Regions from separate parts of the Homo sapiens genome. Here region 2 is linked to region 1. Evidence: promoter capture Hi-C in human tissues and cell types (Jung and others, 2019). All regions are on one chromosome and are shown on one strand. The core of a region is centred on a gene start or on the middle of the fragment in contact, and the rest is flanking DNA. Distances in the headings are between cores, read along the strand shown.

Evidence for each region. The method cuts DNA at HindIII sites, captures the fragments that hold promoters and counts their contacts. A contact is called where the count stands out against the background at its distance.
Region 2: a contact is called between a fragment that was not itself captured here and the fragment with the promoter of SH3GLB2 in region 1, in 1 of the 25 tissues and cell types used here (dorsolateral prefrontal cortex).

Annotation. Positions count from the first base shown.
Region 1 is chr9:129,024,009-129,031,124 of GRCh38, reverse strand. It overlaps SH3GLB2 (SH3 domain containing GRB2 like, endophilin B2), which reads left to right and starts at 2,794. Exons shown (of 11, transcript NM_020145.4): 1 at 2,794-3,033. The coding sequence starts at 2,971. RefSeq lists enhancers at 1,078-1,817, 1,818-2,557, 3,242-3,805, 3,806-4,369, 4,370-4,933 and 1 more and silencers at 2,432-2,861, 2,902-3,411, 4,294-4,525. The HindIII fragment of the contact is 26,388 bases long and covers 1-7,116 here.
Region 2 is chr9:128,854,215-128,860,754 of GRCh38, reverse strand. The region is part of intron 1 of KYAT1-SPOUT1 (KYAT1-SPOUT1 readthrough); the gene reads left to right. The region is part of intron 1 of KYAT1 (kynurenine aminotransferase 1); the gene reads left to right. Among named protein-coding and RNA genes, the nearest start is that of KYAT1, 24 kb to the left of the region's middle. The HindIII fragment of the contact is 3,957 bases long and covers 2,501-6,457 here.

The DNA of each region.
Region 1 (7,116 bases), core at 1,545-4,044:
ACCTCTGCCTCCTCGGTCCAAGCTATTCTCCTGCCTCATCCTCCCTAGTAGCTGGAACTACAGGCCTACACCACCACGCCCAGCTAATTTTTGGTATTTTTAGTAGAGATGGGGTTTCACCATGTTGTCCAGGCTGGTCTCGAACTCCTGACCTCAGGTGATCCGCCTGCCTCGGCCTCCCAGAGTGCTGGGATTACAGGCGTTTGCCACCGCACCTGGCCTACATCTTGATTTCTTTTTTTTTTTTTTTTTTTTTTTTTTGAGATGGAGTTTCTCTCTTGTTGCCCAGGCTGGAGTGCAATGGCGCTATCTCAGCTGACCGCAACCTCTGCCTCCCGGGTTCAAGCGATTCTCCTGCCTCAGCCTCCCAAGTAGCTGGGATTATAGGCATGCGCCAGCACGCCTGGCTAATTTTGTATTTTTAGTAGAGACAGAGTTTCTCTATCTTGGTCAGCTGGTCTTGAACTCCTGATCTCAGGTGATTCGCCCGCCTTGGCCTCCTGGGATTACATGTATGAGCCACCATGCCTGACTAGATTTTTTTAAAGTTAACACTGGCTAAATGAATGATATAGTCAGCTATAAACAGATGATAGTAAATAAGTCCATGATCAATACAGACAAATAGAAACAAACACATAGTGAACACAAAAACAGAAACACAGAGAATCAGAGTTGAGGGATTGCAGATGTGTGAATGACATGAAAGTTGATGAAGGCAACATGTACATACTGGCCCAAGTACATGACAGGATGGCCCAGGTAGGTGGAGTTTTGAAAGCTCCCAGGTGATTTAATGTTAGAGCCATTGACTTGTTGACCCAGAACCAGGGCTGGGAGAGGGAACAGGGTCTGGATTTTGAACAAGCCCCCAGGTGACTTGAGGCTCACCCTGCAGAGCCATGCTGGGATAGGTGACAGAAACTGGGGTAAGTATAGAAAGATGAACAAAGCCAGATAGAAGAGGGTACAGCTTGGGAACAGAGCTCTCCACTGGGTTCAAAGGTGAAACCTAGGCCGGGCGTGGTGGCTCACACCTGTAATCCCAGCACTTTGGGAGGCGGAGGCAGGTGGATCACGAGGTCAGGAGTTCAAGACCAGCCTGACCAACATGGTGAAACCCCGTCTCTACTAAAAATACAAAAATCAGCCGGGCGTGGTGGCACATGCCTGTAATCCCAGCTACTGTGGAGGGTGAGGCAGGAGAATCGCTTAGACCCCGGGAGGCGGTGGCTGCAGTGAGCTGAGATGGTGCCACTGCATTCCAGCCTGGGTGAAAGAGCGAGACTCCATCTCAAAAAGAAAAAAAAAAAAAAAGAGGAAACCTAGAGGTAGACAGCAAGGAGAGGTGAAGACCAGTACAAAGCCTCTATCTGAGCCCCAAGGGAAGGCATTTGGGGTCAGGAGCACCTGTAGGTCATCTCCTTGCCTGGGGCTGTGAGGAGCTGGTTTCAAGGTTATCACACATCTGTGCTCCCAGGGCAGCTCATTCTCTCCACCCTGACAGTCACCCAACCTTTGATCTCCTCCTCTCACCACACAGGGGGCTCCAGGCCCCAGCTCCAGAACCCCCTCCCTTCCCGTGACCGCCACCCCAACCCTCCTCCAATTTGGGGAAGCCACAGGGCCTCCCAGGCTGACAAACAGCTGTTCCAGCGGTGGAGGGCAAGTCCCAAGCCTGACTCCGGCTCAGTCACCAAGGTCAGGGCAGAAGAGAGGAGGAGAGGTCAGAGAGGAGGAGTAACGGGAGGAAACCCAAGGGAAACAGAGTGGAAGAAATGGGAATGGGAGGGAGGGGGTGTGAATAAAGAGCGGAGATGAAGAGGCACAAACAGGGGAGAGGCAGCAGGCCTGGGTGGTGGGAGGAGAAAGCAAGAGAGGCCCATTTTAGAGATCTGTTGCACATATTGGTGACTACTCAGTCACTTAGTGACTTTGGGAGACTGAGGCAGGCAGATTGCCTGAGATCAGGAGTTCAAGACCACCCTGGGCAACATGGCAAAACCTTGTCTCTCCTAAAGTACAAAAAATTAGCGGGGCATGTTGGTGGGCGCCTGTAGTCCCAGCTACTCGGGAGGCTGAATGAAGCAGGAGAATCGCTTGAGCCCGGCAGGTGGAGGCTGCAGTGAGCCGAGATCGCGCCACTGCACTCCAGCCTGGGCGACAGAGCAAGACTCTGTCTACAAAAAAAAAAAAAAAGTATTGCATATTTCAAAATTGCTAAAAGAGTACATTTGAAATGTTCTAACCACAAAAAAAGTAGGTGAGGTGATGGATATGTCAATTAACTTGATTTCATCATTCCACAATTTCATCACCTTGTAGGCCGTAAATATATATTTATCAATTAAAACTTTTGAAAAGCATTGGTAAGATGGCAAATAATATGTAATTATGGCGTGTACCTGCAATCATCTAAGAGCACATGTGTTCCAGTTTTAATAATTTTAGTAAAAGGAAAAAAAGAGGCCGGCCCAATCCGCGGCGGCAGGCGCATGGGGGCAGCAGCGAGCACTGCCCAGCAGCGAGCCCTGCCCAGCACAACCTGCTCCCCAGACCAACCCCCGCTCTGGCCGCGCCAAGGCCTCGCCCCCACCCATGTAGCTCCGCCCCACTGCCCTCTCGCTCCGCCCCTGTCCCGCCAGTCCCGCCCCCTCCGACTCCGCCCGGCTTCCGCCAACCAGCCCGGCCCCCGCCCCTCTAGCTCCGCCCCACTGCCGTCCCGTCCCGCCCCGGCACCGCCAGCTCCGCCCCCGCCCCTCTGGCTCCGACCCGCGGCCTCCGCGCCCCGCCCTGCGCGCTCGGGCTGGCTCGGCGGCTGCGGCGGGCGGGCAGGCGGGCAGGCCGGCAGGCGGGTGCGCGGAGGGCTGGTGCCCCGCAGCAGGTGGGCGGGGTGCGGTTGGCGGCGGCGGCTGGGCCGGGGGCTGCCGGCTGCGCTCGGGCCGTGCGCGGCGGCCGTGCGGGCACGCCATGGACTTCAACATGAAGAAGCTGGCGTCGGACGCGGGCATCTTCTTCACCCGGGCGGTGCAGGTGAGGCCTGGCGTCGCGCCGTGCGCCGGGGGCCCGGATGTGCGGCGGGCGGGGAGCACCCTGCGGCAGACGCCTGGGGACGCGGGAAAGCCCTCCCGGGCTGCTGCCCTCGTCCCCGCCGCGGCACACCTCTGCCCCCCTGAGCCCTTGCTGACCGGAAGAGGGAAAGAGCCCGTGCGGCCCGAGCCGGGCCTTGGCCCTGCTGCCTGGGGCGAGGCACCGGTGCCCACCCTTTGGGCTGGTTGGGTTACCCTGCTCCCCTGGCGCCTGCCTGGCTGAGGAGGGGAGGAGGCACCGGCTGGGTGCTACCTCCCTGCCCTTGTCCAGCAGTGACTGGCGCCTGGCGGGGCATTTAGCGACCTGGGTCCCAGGCCCAGGGACTCATGCGTCCACCACAACCCCTTCTCCGAGCCTCAGTCTCCGCACCTGTGCAATGGGCGGCTGGTGCCATGAGTCCCTCATGGCCATTTCACACGTTTGGATAGTCAGGCCGGAAGCCAGGAGTTGTTTCTTTTCTGCTCCACGGGAGGTCTGTTTCCTTGGTCCCTGGGCCTGGGGGATGGAGAGAGGGCTGGGGTCTGGCTGGGAAGCTGTCCAGGCCCACGATGCTGAGATTGGAAGAAGTCCTATCCGTTTAGGGGCAGAGAGTAACAGGCAACTCAACATCATGGGAAGACCTAGGGTCAGGTGTGGGTGGGAATGTGCCCTCCTGTGACCTTGGGGGAGGGGCCTTCATCTCACTGGGCCTCAGTTTCTCAGTCTGAAAAATGGGATCAGTATTCCTGCCTCCCAGGACAGATGCGAGGATTCTGTGGGACTCTGCATATGTGTGCTCACCAAAGGCAAGCTCATTATTGGTGTCAAAGTGGTTAATATTGCACCTGTGCAGCATGTGACCTTGGACAAGTCACTTCTCTCAGAGCCCCGCCCTCCCCTTCTGTAAATCTGGTGTAACACCGTGGTTATGGGATTCAGTGGGATTCCGCAGGCCCGGGGCTGGCCCATCCCAGGGTTCTGGGAGCAGGTCCTGTAGTCTTGTCTTTGTCGTTGTCGTTGTCATCGTTGTTGTTTCTGTTGAGTACAGTTCTCTCCCCACCCCCAACCCGGGCACTCCCCTCCCCAGGAGCCCACACCCAGCCAGCAACCCATGTAGTCATGTTTACTAGAAGGTGCTGTGTCCCGCTGAGGATTAGCATCCCAGCGAGAATTCACTGCTTAATGTGTTCCAAGTCTGGTGGGCAGCCCCAGCCCTAGTGGAGATGCCAGGATCCCAGAGCCCCTCGGATTGGACGGCCCCAGTCCATCTGGGAGGGGGGAACCCACTCTGCTGTTGGTATGGCAACCACACTATCTCCCACATCTGGGAAGAACCTGATCTGCCAGTTCCCTGCTAGGGCTGGGGCCCTGCTGCCTGACCTGGCCAGGGCTCTCAGGACCTAGGCAGGGCAGGGCCTAGGTGTGGCTCCGCTTGGTGGGAGCTGCCCCACAGGGTCACTGTTACTGGAGTGGGAGCCAGCAGTCAGGCCCCAGCCTCGGGGTGGGAGGGAGGGAGCTGAGAGCTTTATAAATAGAGGCTTTCTCTGCTCTGCACGCCCACCCCACTGCTGCCATTTTCCCGGGAGCAGCCTCGGACTCCAGCACCAAACCCCTTCCTCTTGGCAGGATTGGGGCAGAGTGGCAGGCCAGGGGATAGAGAGGCCTGAAATGTGACCTGGCAGGAGAGGCCACAGAGGGGCTCCGCCTGAGACCAAGCTGGCCTGGATGGGAGACAGTCAGGAGGGATGGGAGAGGGGTTCTTTATGATCAATACATGTGATGGGCTCAGGAACCTCCCAGTCCCTGCAGGTACAAGAAACAACTTTAAGAGCCTCCCCGATCCAGCAAGGAACAAGGCCTTGGCCCTGAGATGAGGATCCAGAGGGCAGGATCCCTTTTGTATGGGTCATTCTGGGATGGTCTCCTGCATGGAGGGCCCCTGAACTGTGCTCAGAAAGTAGGGAGGGGCTCATGATGTTGGTCCAAGTGGCAGGAGCAGCCCAGATAAGGGCACCGAGGCAAGAAAACCTAAGGCAGATTTGGACAAGATGCCAGTGGGGGTGGGAGAGGGCAGGAGGAGTGATAGTACTAATACTATTAGTAGTAATTGCAGTAACAGTAATAGTAGTGGTAGAAGTAATACTTATAAAGTCCAGAGAGGTGGTGGCATCGTCATCATGGAGCTAGGCAGACTGCAGTGGACATGGGATGGATGCCGTCTAGTTTGGGAAAGCCTGGTAGAACTTCTCACCTGGGCAGATGTGGCCTGTAAGGGAGGGCGGGGTGGGGAGTGCTGCTCTGAACCTTGGTAAGGAGGGGAGGTGTTGAGGTGCACATTTAGGGTGATGCCCTTGGTACCATCAGGGTAGCTCCTGAGAGCTGAGGAGGGATGTGAGGGAGGCCTGCCTGCCTGCCTGCCTGCCTGCCTGCCTTCCTTCCTTCCTCCCTTAGTCCCTCTCTCCTTTCTTCTTTCCTTCCTTTTTTTTTTTTGAGACAGAGTCTCATCCTGTCGCCGAGGCTGGAGTGCAGTGGCACAATCTCGGCTCACTGCAACCTCCACCTTTCAGGTTCAAGTGATTCTTCTGCCTCAGCCTCCCGAGTAACTGGGATTATAGGCACCTGCCACCACTCCTGGCTAATTTTTTTTTTGTACTTAGTAGAGACAGGGTTTCACCACGTTGGCCAGGCTGGTCTCAAACTCCTGGGCTCAAGTGATCCTCCTGCCTCGGCCTCCCAAAGTGCTGATATTACAGGTATGAGCCACCATGCCTGGCCTTTTTTTTTTTTTTTTTGAGACGGAGTCACTCTGTCACGCAGGCTGGCGCAGTCTCAGCTCACTGCAGCCTCCGCCTCCCCGGTTCAAGCAATTCTCCTGCCTCAGCCTCCCGAGTAGGTGGGATTACAGGCGCCCACCACCACGTCATGCTAATTCTTGTATTTTTAGTAGAGATGGGGTTTTACTATGTTAGCCAGGCTGGTCTCGAACTCCTGACCTCACGTGATTCACCTGCCTTGGCCTCCCAAAGTGCTGGGATTACAGGCGTGAGCCACCATGCCTGGCTTCCTTGCTGTCTTTTTTTTTTTTTGAGATGGAGTCTCGCTCTGTCACCCAGGCTGGAGTGCAGTGGCGTGATCTCGGCTCACTGCAAGCTCCACCTCCCAGGTTGATGCCATTCTCCTGGCTCAGCCTCCCGAGTAGCTGGGATTACAGGCGCCTGCCACCACGCTTGGCTAATTTTTTGTATTTTTAGTAGAGATGGGGTTTCACCGTGTTAGCCAGGATGGTCTTGATCTCCTGACCTCGTGATCCGCCCACCTCGGCCTCCCAAAGTCTTTCTTTTTTTAAGGCAGGTTCTTGGTCTGTCACCCAGGCTGGAGTGCAGTGACATGATATTGGCTCATTGCAACCTCCGCCTCCTGGGCTCCCACCTCAGCCCCTTGAGTAGCTGGGACTACAGGTGGGTGCCACCACGCCCAGCTAATTTTTTTTTTTTTTTTTGAGACTGAGTCGCACTCTGTGGCCCAGGCTGGAGTGCAGTGGGGCGATGCTCATTGCAAGCTCCGCCTCCCAGGTTCATGCCATTCTCCTGCCTCAGCCTCCCGAGTTACTGGGTCTACACGTGCCCGCCACCACACCCGGCTAATTTTTTGTATTTTTAGTAGAGAAGGGGTTTCACCTTGCTAGCCAGGATGGTCTCGATCTCCTGACCTCGTGATCCGCCTGCCTTGGCCTCCCAAAGTGCTGGGATTATAGGCATAAGCCACCGTGCCGGGCTTTTTTTTTTTTTTTTTTTTTTTTGTAGAGAGGAGGTCTCACGGTTGCCCAGGCTGGTCTTGAACTCCTGGGCTCAATCCATCTGCCCACATCGGCCTTCCAAAGTGCTGGGATTATAGGCATGAGCCACTGCACCTAGCCAAGGCTTTTCATTAATGATGGTGATAATAATACTAGCTAACATGTATCAGCCCCATACTGTGTGCTGGCCAAATAGCCAATGAACTAGATCCTGTTATCTGCATTCTCCAGGCAGGGGCTCTCAGGTCCAG
Region 2 (6,540 bases), core at 3,230-5,729, 170 kb after region 1:
CCCATCTCTACTAAAAATACAAAAATTAGCCAGGCATGGTGGAATGCGACTGTAATCCCAGTTACTTAGGCTGAGGCAGGAGAATCGCTTGAACCCAGGAGGCGGAGCTTGCAGTGAGCCGAGATTGCGCAACTGCACTCCACCCTGGGCGACAAAGCAAGACTCCGTTTCAAAAAAAAAAAAAAAAGGCTGAACAAACTGAAAAACCAGCGGCTCTTTTTCAGTTCATCAGAAAATTAGGTCACAGGGTAACCTGCTGCCCCCAAACTGGAGAGGCAGAAAGGTAGATACAGAGAATCATGATTTGCCAGAGCAGAAACCTTCCCTGGAATCAGCACCTGGGTGGGAAAACCTGAACTGCAACTGACGAATGTCTGGCAGCGTGGATGTGTGCTGCTGGTTAATGTTAGGTGGCAGCTGGACTGGAGTAAGGAATACCTAGAGAATGGTGAAACATGACTTCTGGGTGTGTCTGTGAGGGTGTTTCCAGAGGAGATTGGCGTGGGAGTCAGTGGACTGAGTGGGGAAGATCCGCTCTCAATGTGGGTGGCAGTATGCAATTGGTTCACGGCTTGAATAAAAACAAAAGAGGAGAAAATTTTCCTCTTTCTGTCTCTGTCTCTCCTGGAGCTGGAAGATTCTCCTTCTCCTGCCCTTTGGATATCAAAACTCTAGGCTCTTCAGCCTTGGACTGAGAATTATCCCAGTGGCGTCCCTGGTTCTGAGGCTTGCAGACTTGGACTGAGCCACGCTACTGGCACCTCTTGCAAATAGTCTCTCAGGGGACTTCTCAGCCTCCATTAATTGCGTGAGTCAATTTCCCTATAAATCCCCTCTCATGCACTTTGGGAGGCCGAGGCGGGTGGGTCACGAGGTCAGGAGATCGAGATCATCCTGGCTAACACGGTGAAACCCTGTCTCTACTAAAAATACAAAAAATTAGCTGGGTGTGATGGCGGGCACCTGTAGTCCCAGCTACTTAGGAGGCTGAGGCAGGAGAATGGTGTGAACCTGGGAGGCAGAGCTTGCAGTGAGCCGAGATCGCGCCACTGCGCTCCAGCCTGGGCAACAGAGCGAGATTCTGTCTCAAAAAAAAAAAAAAATGGCTGGGCAAGGTGGCTCACCAGCACGATCTCGGCTCACTGCAACCTCCACCTCCTGGGTTCAAGCAATTCTCCTGTCTCAGCCTCCTGAGTAGCTGGGAGATTACAGGCATGCGCCACCACACCCAGCTAATTTTTGTATTTTTAGTAGAGATGGGGTTTCACCATGTTGACCAGGCTGGTCTCAAACTCCTGACCTCAGGTGATCCACCCACCTCAGCCTCCCAAAGTGCTGGGATTACAGGCAGGAGCCACTGCACCCAGCTGAGAGTAACTTTTTTTTTTGTTGTTGAGACGGAGTCTCCCTCTGTTGCCCAGGCTGGAGTGCAGTGGCGCGATCTCAGCTCACTGCAGGTTCAGCCTCCTGGGTTCACGACATTCTCCTGCCTCAGCCTCCCGAGTAGCTGGGACTACAGGTGCCCACCACCACACCTGGCTAATTTCTGTATTTTTAGTAGAGACAGGGTTTCGCCGTGTTAGCCAGGATGGTCTCGATCTCCTGACCTCGTGATCCGCCTGCCTTGGCCTCCCAAAATGCTGGGATTACAGGCGTGAGTCACCGTGCCTGGCCAAGGGTAACTATTTTTAAGTATGCCAGAGCATTCCTCCAAAATACTCTTTTTCTTTCTTTTCTTTTCTTTGCTTTTTTTTTTTTTTTGAGATGGAGTCTTGTTCTGTCACCCAGGCTGGAGTGCAACGCACAATCTCAGCTCACTTTAGCCTCCAAGCAATTCCCTTGCCTCAGCCTCCCGAGTAGCTGGGATTACAGGTATGAGCCACCATGTCCAGCTAATTTTTGTGTTGTTAGTACAGACAGGATTTCACCGTGTTGGCCAGTCTGGTCTCAAACTCCTGACCTCAAGTGATCTGCCCACCTCAGCCTCCCGAAGTGCTGGAATTATAAGCGTGAGCCACCGGGCCTGGCCTAAAACATTCTTTTTCTTTTTTTGTTTTTTGAGATGGAATTTCACTTTTGTTGCCCAGGCTGGAGTGCAATGGTGCAGTGGCTCACTGCAACCTCCGACTCTCGGATTCAAGTGATTCTCCAGTCTCAGCCTTCCAAGTAGCTGGGATTACAGGTGCATGCCATCACGCCTGGCTAATTTTTGTAGTTTTAGTAGAGATGGGGTTTCATCATATTGGTCAGGCTGGTCTCAGACTCCTGACCTTAGGTGATCTGCCCGCCTTGGCCTCCCAAAGTGCTGTGATTACAGGTATGAGCCACCATGCCCGGGCTTTTTTTTTTTTTTTTTTTTATACATGGTCTCACTCTGTTGCCCAGGCTGGAGTGCAGTGGAGCAATTTTGGCTCATTGCAACCTCTGCCTCCTGAGCTCAAGCGATTCTCGTACCTCAGCCTCCTAAGTAGCTGGGACTACAGGTGCATGTGACTTCGCCCAGCTAATTTTTGTATTTTTGGTAGAGATGGGGTTTTGTCGTGTTGGCCAGGCTGGTCTCAAACTCCTGACCTCAGGTGACCCACCCACCTCAGCCTCCCAAAGTGCTGGGATTACAGACGTGAGCCACCGTGCCCAGCCTTGGCTGTTTGTGTATCTTTTTTGGAAACATTCAGATTTATGATTTGCAGATATTTCCTTCCATTCCATGGGCTGTCTTTTCATTTTCTTAATGGGTATCCTTGAAGCACAAAAGTTCTTAATTTTGATGAGGTCCAGTTTATTTTTTCTTTTGTTGTGTATGCTTTGGATGTTATGTCTAGAACCCCAAGGTCACAGAGATTTATTCCTATGTTTTCTTCTAGTTTTCTTGTTTTAGTTCATACATTTAGTTTTGTTTTTTGTTTGTTTGTTTGTTTTGAGACGGAGTCTCGCTGTGTCGCCCAGGCTGGAGTGCAGTGGCGTGATCTCTGCTCACTGCAAGCTCCGCCTCCCGGGTTCACGCCATTCTCCTGCCTCAGCCTCCAGAGCAGCTGGGACTGCAGGTGCCCACCACCACGCCCAGCTAATTTTTTGTATTTTTAGTAGAGACGGGGTTTCACTGTGTTAGCCAGGATGGTCTTGATCTCCTGACCTTATGATCCGCCTGCCCTGGCCTCCCAAAGTGCTGGGATTACAGGCGTGAGACACCGTCCCCAGCCCATACATTTAGTTATGTGATTCACTTTGAATTAATTTTTGTGTATGGGGCAGGGCACATGGCTCACGCATGTAATTTCAGCACTTTGGGAAGCTGAGTGAAGCGGTGGCCTGTCCCTCCACACCTGTGGGTATCTCATCAGGTGGGACGAGAGACTGAGAAAAGAAGTAAGACACAGAGATGAAGTATAGAGACAACAGTGGGCCCAGGAGACTGGCAAGCAGCATATCAAGGACCTGCACCAGCATCGGTTTCTGAGTTTCCTCACTTTTTATTGATTATTATTTTTATTATCTCAGCAAGAGGAATGCAGTAGGAGAGCAGGGTGATAATAAGGAGAAGGTCAGCAAAAAAACATGTGAGCAAAAGAATCTATGTCATAATTAAGTTCAAGGGGAGGTACTATGCCTGCATGTGCACGTAGGCCGGATTTATGTTTCTCCCCGCCCAAACATCTCAGTGGAGTAAAGAATAACAAGGCAGCATTGCTGCCAACATGTCTCGCCTCCCGCCATAGGGCGGTTTTTCTCCTATCTCAGAATTGAACAAATGTATAATCAGGTTTTATACCGAGACATTCAGTTCCCAGGGGCAGGCAGGAGACAGTGGCCTTCCTCTATTTCAACTTCAAGAGGCTTTCCTCTTTTACTAATCTACCTCAGCACAGACCCTTTACGGGTGTTGGGCTGGGGGACAGTCAGGTCTTTCTCATCCCACAAGGCCATATTTCAGATTATCACATGGGGAGAAACCTTGGACAATACGTGGCTTTCCAAGGCAGAGGTCCGTGCGGCTTTCCGCAGTGCGTTGTGCCCCTGGTTTATTGAGATTAGAGAATGGCGATGACTTTTACCAAGCATACTGCTTGTAAACATTTTGTTAACAAGGCATATCCTGCACAGCCCTAGATCCCTTAAACCTTGATTCCAGACAACACATGTTTTTGTGAGCTCAAAGTTGGGGCAAAGTGGCTGGGGCAAAGTTACAAATTAACAACATCTCAGCAAAGCAATTGTTCAAGGTACAGGTCAAAATGGAATTTCTTATGTCTTCCCTTTCTACATAGACACAGTAACAGTCTGATCTCTCTTTCTTTGCCGTACATATCCCCCTTTTCTTTTTGACAAAACCGCCATAGTCATTATGGCCTGTTTTCGCTGGTTGCTGTCTCTCTGGAGCTGCTGGATACACCTGTAGACCAGCAACAGAGAACAGACATACAAGGATTAATACAAAATTTGCAATAGTGGAACTTCCAGTGGTTTTAACCCAAGTGATGGGGTTAAGATTTGTGAGGCCATCAGCAGCTTTCACCATTGCCTCAGTTTCTGGCACCAGATTGAACTGGGCTTTTGATGCCTCAAAAATTTGTTATTTTAATTTTAAAATATCTAAAGTAAGGTTATCTTCTCTTCCTTGTAGATGGCGTCTAACCATGTCCCAGTGATGTTCAGATTCATTATAGGCTCGAGGTGTAATACAAAAATCTGACATATTCCAGTCACACTGTAACTGAAAAAGATATTCTAAGCTCATGAGCCTATCTCTCATTCAAATGACAGTTTGTCTACGATCATTAATTTGGTTTGCCAATTTTTGGTCTATTTGAGTCTGAGAATTCCACAATTTTGAGGAGTTCTTTTGCCAATTATTTATATATTTTGTAGTTTGAACAGAGGAGTGTAAAGCAATTCCAGCAGCCGCAGCAGTAGCTGTGACTGCAATAAGACCCATAATCACTGCAATTAAAGTAAAAAATGAATCTTTTGGATCTAGTTAGAACTCCTTTTAATACTTCTGTTAAAATATGGATGGATGGGGAAGCCTCCCACGGTCGGTCCATGGACACAGGGATCCACACACCCTCTCTTGCCCTCACTGGCAGAATATGGTGCTGCCAATCAAAAGTTGAATCAATGCAAGTAAACAATCTACAATTTTCACAGGTTATAGTTTGGGAATCTGGTTTAATAACTATGTTTCCTACAACTAGCATATAAGAGGGTTTTACACAACTTTGCAAAGGAATTGTCGGATTGGAATTTAGGTTAATAGTATAATGTGGCTTATGATTTCTTGTTCCGATAACTTGATTTCCAGACCAAATTCTAATGTGGTGCGAGGCCACAGTAAGCTTTCATAATGCTGGATGTTCAGGAGCAGTAACAGGACTAACTAACTTTGGTTGAGGTGATGAAATCCCCTTTTCACCCCATTTCCATGGATAGGGTGATTCTAGCCTTCTATAAACCTGGTCTAGCCTTTCAGTTAAATCACTATCATAGGCCGGATTAGTGGGCCAGACAGATGGGGTCTGTGAACATGAGTGAGTCTGGCCCATACAACCATAATATAATTGGTTTTGAGGGGCCCAGTCTATAATAGTTCCAAATTTATTGTTTTGTAATACCACCACAGTATCAGCCACATATTTTTCCCAAACTAAGACTTCTGGGTCTTTTGATTCTTTGGGAATTTCCTTGAGGCAAGGTCCCCTTAGGCCTAAATTTTAATGATCTTTGATAAGAAGAGTCCTGTAAATTATTCATTTGTGACCCAAGTGACATTCCACTTACCATATGATAAGTAAATTTATTGGTGGCACTGACAGTAGATACTTCTACCAACCAATTTTGGGTTGTAGGCATTAAGCATCCTGGTGCTTTCCCCAGGCAAATAGGAGGATAATGATACCCAGTGGAAATGTTTATCATCATTCCTTCTTCTTCAGGTTGGGCAGGGCCGCGGTCATCTGTGGGTCCTGGTACCCATGCACTAATATTAACACATACTTCAATAGAATATTATCCATCCAAGTGACTGCCTGAATTAAGGGCGGGAAAGGCACATAGGCCCAGTAAGTATAATTAGCTGCAGCTGCTCCTGCAGACATAGTGAGACTTACCACCATTGATACAATCATTAAAGCTGCAAGCAGCATATTCTCTGGAGTTTGTGTTACCCTTGTGTACTTTAGGCTTTTTTCAGCTAACTGTGTCAGCTTCTTTAGCTGGGCCCAGGTCGGCGGCTTCGCTTTTTTGGTGGATGGCAACTTTTTCTGTAAGTTGTAGGTACCCAAACTGGAAGCTGATTTTCTCCTGGTGAAACACGAGCAAAACCTCTCCCCCACGTTATCACCTTCTCTATTTTTTATGTTTTATTTTTGTTGTCTTTTTACCAAATCAGTTTTTCCTCATGTGGGCTGTTCTTTTTACCAGTAAAATGTTGTTCTGCAGAAGTAGCGGTCTGATTTCTATAAATGTTAAAAAAATTTAAAGTATAGAGTGCTAGATTAAGTTGCATCTGGGGAGTGTTATATTCCTTACTGTCCTTTTCCTTTT